2 separate regions of the Homo sapiens genome follow, and region 1 is linked to region 2. The links are contacts of gene promoters, found by promoter capture Hi-C in human tissues and cell types (Jung and others, 2019). All regions are on one chromosome and are shown on one strand. The core of a region is centred on a gene start or on the middle of the fragment in contact, and the rest is flanking DNA. Distances in the headings are between cores, read along the strand shown. Region 1 overlaps ABHD8 (abhydrolase domain containing 8). Region 2 holds the start of TMEM221 (transmembrane protein 221).

Region 1 (2,783 bases), core at 227-2,726, 150 kb after region 2:
GTCCACATTTGCCACAATGTCCCCTTCTCCAGGAACATCCCCACACAAGACGCCACCACCTTCCCTGTGGACACCCTGTGGGGTAAGCCATAGCCAAGTCTTTCTCTCTGAGGATAGACTAGGGTGACCCAGGAGGGTAACTACCACAAAGGCACTGCTCAGACAAAACATGTCAGTGCACGGTGGCTCACACCTATAATCCCAGCACTTTGGGAGGCCGAAGCAGGAGGAAAATTTGAGGTCAGGAGTTCAAGACCAGCCTGGCCAACATGGTGAAACCCCATCTCTACAAAAAATACAAAAATTAGCTAGACATGGTGGCACCTGCCTATAATCCCAGCTACTCAGGAGGCTGAGGCAAGAGAATCGCTTGAACCCAGGAGGGGGAGGTTGCAGTAAGCCGAAATCCGGCCACTGCCCTCCAGCCTGGATGACAAAGCGAGACTGTCTCAAAAACACACACACACACACACACACACACACACACAAACAAAAAAATCTCAGTGCCGTGGCTCACTTGATCTGGCGCTCCCCAAACTGGAGTCTAAAACAGTTCTCCCAAGGCTCAGGGAGTGCCTGCTGCACGGTGCAGGGTTCTCATTGAGACAGCACCTGAACTGGCTGCTGTCCTCACTCACAGGACACACCATGCTGACCGGGGTGACCGACGGTATCTTCTGTTGCCTGCTGGGCACGCCCCCCAACGCCGTGGGGCCACTGGAGAGCGTCGAGTCCAGCGATGGCTACACCTTTGTAGAGGTCAAGCCCGGCCGCGTGCTGCGGGTGAAGCATGCAGGACCCGCCCCAGCCGCTGCCCCACCTCCACCATCATCCGCATCCTCGGATGCAGCCCAGGGGGACCTCTCCGGCTTGGTCCGCTGTCAGCGCCGGATCACCGTGTACCGCAATGGGCGGTTGCTGGTGGAAAACCTGGGCCGAGCCCCTCGAGCCGACCTCCTACACGGGCAGAATGGCTCTGGGGAGCCGCCGGCCGCCCTGGAGGTGGAGCTGGCAGATCCGGCGGGCAGCGATGGCCGCTTGGCCCCCGGCAGCGCAGGCAGCGGCAGCGGCAGTGGCAGTGGTGGGCGGCGGCGGCGAGCCAGGCGCCCCAAGAGGACCATCCATATTGACTGTGAGAAGCGCATCACTAGCTGCAAAGGCGCCCAGGCCGACGTGGTGCTCTTTTTCATCCATGGTGTCGGCGGTTCCCTGGCCATCTGGAAGGAGCAGCTGGACTTCTTTGTGCGCCTAGGCTATGAGGTGGTGGCTCCTGACCTGGCCGGCCACGGGGCCAGCTCTGCGCCCCAGGTGGCCGCAGCCTACACCTTCTATGCGCTGGCTGAGGACATGCGAGCAATCTTCAAGCGCTATGCCAAGAAGCGAAATGTGCTCATTGGCCATTCCTACGGGTAAGTGAACCCTGGCATGTGGGGTGGGGGTGAGGGATGGGGTCAGCAGGGACTACAGTCACAAAATACTGAGTTTTTGGCTGAGCCCCGTGGCTCACGCCTGTAATCCCAGCACTTTGGGAGGCCGAGGCAGGCGGATCACCTGAGGTTGGGAGTTCGGGAACAGTCTGGCCAAGGTGGTGAAACCCCGTCTCTACCAAAAATACAAAAATTAGCCAGACGTGGTGGCACGCGCCTGTAGTCCCAGCTACTCGGGAGGCTGAGGCAGAGGAATCACTTGAACCGAGGAGGTGGAGGTTGCAGTGAGCCGAGATTGTGTCACTGCACTCCAGCCTGGGCGACAGAGGGAGACTCTGAGATGCCACTGACACCTGTAATCCCAGTGCTTTCGGGGGCCAAGGCGGGAGGATATCTTGAGGCAAGGAGTTTGAGACCAGCCTGGGCAACATAGGGAGAACCCCCTAGCTCTACAAAAAGTACAAACATTAGCTAGGTGAGGAGGTGCACGCATATAGTTCCACCTACTTAAGGGCTGAGGCAGGAGATTGCTTGAGTCTGGGAGGTCGAGGCTGCAGTGAACTGTGATCACACCACTGCACTCCAGCCTGGGCAGCATGGCAAGAACCTGTCGCTCTTTAAAAAAGAAAAAAAAATCCGGGCGCGGTGGCTCACGCCTGTAATCCCAGCACTTTGGGAGGCTGAGGCGGGCGGATCACGAGGTCAGAAGATTGAGACCATCCTGGCTAACACGGTGAAACCCTGTCTCTACTAAAAATACAAAAAATTAGCTGGGTGTGGTGGTGGGCACCTATAGTCCCAGCTACTCGGGAGGCTGAGGCAGGAGAATGGCATGAGCACGGGAGACGGAGCTTGCAGTGAGCCAAGATCATATTGTGCCACTGCACTCCAGCCTGGGCGACAGAAGGAGACTCCGTCATGAAAAAAAAAAAAGGGGCCACCACGCGCGGTGGTGCACATTTGTAATCCCAGCACTTTGTGGATGGATCATTGGAGATGAGTTTGGACAACATGGCAAAACCTTATCTCCTAAAACAAAACAAAGCAAACAAAAATCCTAATTTTTCTCCTTGAAAAAAATCCCATTTTTCAATTTAATTTTTACATTTTTAAAATTTTTTTTTCTTTTAAATAGAGATGGCATCTCACTATGTTGCCCAAGATGTTCTTTAACTACTGGGCTCAAGTGATCCTTGCACCTCAGCCTCCCAAAGTGCTAGGACTACAGGTGTGAGTCATTGTGCTCAGCCTTAATTTTTTTTTTTTTTTTTTTTTTTGAGATGGAGTCTCACTCTGTCCCCCAGGCTGGAGTGCAGTGGCGTGATCCTGGCTCACTGCAAGCTCCACCTCCCAGGT
Region 2 (2,854 bases), core at 200-2,699:
AGAGGTAATGATTGTACAACACTAAATGCCACTGAATAAAATGATTAATTTTATGTTATGTAAGTTTCATCTCGATTTTTTTAAAGTGCTGTGCGAATAATTTGGGGGACCAGTTGGGGAAGGGATCCAGGATTCTCCCTAGCCTCCTAGAGGAAGCAACGGTTACCCAAAGGCTTGAAGGAAGTAAGCAGAGGGGAAATCACAGCCAATGACAGAGTCCCTGGGTTGAGATCAAATGAAAAGTGAATTTTTAAATTTTGTTATTTCTTTTTTGAGACACAGCCTCGCTCTGTCACTCAGGCTGGAGTGCAGTGGCGTGATCTCAGTTCACTGCAGCCTCGACCTCCTGGGCTCAAGCGATCCTCCTGTCTCAGTCCCGAAAGTAGCTGGGTCCACAGGCGTGCACCACCACACCAGGCTGACTTCCTTATTTTTTGTAGAGATGGGGTCTGGCTATGTTGCCCAGGCTGGTCTCAAACTCCTGGGCTTAAGCCATCCTCCTGCCTCAGCCTCCCAAAGTGCTGGGATTACAGTTGTGAACCACCTCACCCAGCCCTTTCTCTCTCTCTCTCTTTTTTTTTTTTTTTTTTTTTGATGGAGTCTTACTCTGTCAGCCAGGCTGGAGTGTGCAGTGGTGCAATCTCGGCTCACTGCAACCTCCGCCTCCCTGATTCAAGCATTCCTCCAACCTCAGCCTCCCGAGTAGCTAGGATTACAGGCCATGCACCACTACGCCGGGCTAATTTTTTTTTTTTTTTTTTTTTTTAGTAGAGACGGGGGTTTCACCATGTTGGCCAGGCTGGTCTTGAACTCCTGACCTCAAGTGATCCGCCCACCTCGGACTCCTAAAGTGCTGAGATTACAAGCGAGAGCCACCGCGCCCGGCCTCCTTTCTCTTTATTTTTTATTTTTTAATTAATTAATTAATTAATTTTGAGACGGAGTCTCGCTCTGTCGCCCAGGCTGCAGTGCAATGGCGTAATCTCAGCTCACTGAAACCTCCGCCTCCTGGGTTCAAGCAATTCTCCTGCATCAGCCTCCCGAGTAGCTGGGATTACAGGCTCCGGCCACCACGCCCGGCTAATTTTTGTATTTTTAGTAGAGACGGGGTTTCACCATATTGGCCAGGCTGGTCTGGAACTCTTGACCTTGTGATCCGCCCGCCTCGGCCTCCCAAGGTGCTGGGATTACAGGCGAGAGCCACCGCCCCCGGCCTCCTTTTTCTTGTTTTAAACCACAATACAATCGATGCTTAGGGCGGCAGGGGGCGGGGTGGTGCCCTTTTCTGAACTTAGCGAGCTGTGGGGTTCCCGCGATCCAGTCCCTAGTGGGGCCTCCCCGCCCTGCGCCCGGTGCCAGGCCCCGCCCCGCCAGGCCCAGCGGACCAAGAGGGGGCGCCCGCGGGGCCCCGGGAGGGAGGAGAAAAGACTTTGTCCCAAGTTTTCGCGGAGATTCGGCGTCCCGGCTGCGACCAGCACCCCGGAGCCCCCGTCCGTCTGGCGACCCCCAGCCCAGTCCCCGAACTTTCAGACACTCCCTGCGGCCCCGCCCCCTCGGGGACCCCCTGAGGACCCTCGGATTCCCCCCAACTCCCCTGCCCTCTAAAACCACTTCAATTCCTCAACTCTTCCCCCGGCCCGCAGGAACCCCCGCCATGGCCCGTTCTTACGGCGGCCGGGTGCTGGCTGCAATGACCCTGCTGGGCATCGCGGCGGCCGTGCTGGCGGCGCTGGGCGCGCAGCTGCTGTTTCAGCTGCAGGCGGGCCGCGCCGAGCTGCGGGGGCTGCGCGCCGAGGGGCTGGGCCAGGAGCTGGGCGCCGGCCCCGGGCTGCCAGAGGACGCGGCCGGGACGCTGCTGCCGCTGGCCGCCGCGCTGGCCGCGCTGGTGCTCGTGCTGGGGTTCACCTGCTTGCTGCTCGCCGCGCTCTGTGGCCACCTGGGCGCCGAGCTGGCGCGGGGGCCTGGCCCCAGGAGGTAGGAGGACTGGCCTCACCGCCTCGGAGGCCCGGCTGGGGGCTGGGTGAGCCTGGTTGAGCCTCTTCCCCTCTTTTGGCCTCAGGCTGGGGGGACAGCTTCCCTCCCCACTTCCCTCTCCCCACCACTCCATGTCTCTCTGCCTCCCTCCTTTCCTCTCCTCCTCCCTCCTTCCCTCCCTCCATTCTATATTTGTTCAATTTTGCAGCAGGTGCAACCACTGCTGTGTCTCGCATTTTGCAGATGAGGAAACTGAGGCTCAAAGAGGGTCCAGGATCAGCTTGCCTGGATCTCAAACAGGGGAGGCTGAGCTCTCAGGCTGTCTGGCTTGGAAGTGGGTGGGAGGCGGGACAGTGCTGGACTTGAACTTGGTTCTGGGTAGAGCCAGCCAGAGCCTGTGTCCTGGTCTGAAATTGAGTTCCTTCCTCAGGGACCTGAACTCAGTCAGGGATGTGGTCATTGAGGGACCCCTATCAGGGGCAGTGGTTGTGGAAGGAGGAACCCTCCTTGAGCTGAGGACTCCGCTGTCCCACATGGTAGTGTTTCTCTCCAGAATGTCGGGGGAGAGGAGCCCAAATTCTAGTCCAGAATTCTGTGAAATTGAGCAGATGAGAACTCCCACCATTGAGGTAGATCCTATCCAGACCATGCACCTTCCACCCAAGGGACAATGAAATGCATGGGTCCCACGGGTCAGCAAACATCTGTTGGGTGCCTGCCTGCAGGGGAATGGATCTGGCTCAGGGCATCAGAGACAGCGGGGACCAAGTGGACCCAGACCTGCTCTCATGGGGTCACAGAAAATAAGGAAACATAACAAGGACAAGGCATGGTGGTTCACACCTGCAATCCCAGCCCTTTGGGAGGCAGAGGCAGGAGG

What was found. The method cuts DNA at HindIII sites, captures the fragments that hold promoters and counts their contacts. A contact is called where the count stands out against the background at its distance.
Region 1: a fragment that was not itself captured here is called in contact with the fragment with the promoter of TMEM221 in region 2 in 2 of the 25 tissues and cell types used here (lymphoblastoid cells and mesenchymal stem cells).

The regions. Positions count from the first base shown.
Region 1 is chr19:17,299,482-17,302,264 of GRCh38, reverse strand. ABHD8 (abhydrolase domain containing 8) reads left to right here. Exons shown (of 5, transcript NM_024527.5): 2 at 641-1,409. The coding sequence starts at 649. It also overlaps a transcript of MRPL34 not described here. Among named protein-coding and RNA genes, the nearest start is that of ABHD8, 2.6 kb to the left of the region's middle. RefSeq lists enhancers at 303-803, 804-1,304. The HindIII fragment of the contact is 7,858 bases long and covers 1-2,783 here.
Region 2 is chr19:17,447,263-17,450,116 of GRCh38, reverse strand. TMEM221 (transmembrane protein 221) reads left to right here and starts at 1,449. Exons shown (of 3, transcript NM_001190844.2): 1 at 1,449-1,974. The coding sequence starts at 1,655. RefSeq lists a silencer at 1,316-1,435. The HindIII fragment of the contact is 11,612 bases long and covers 1-2,854 here.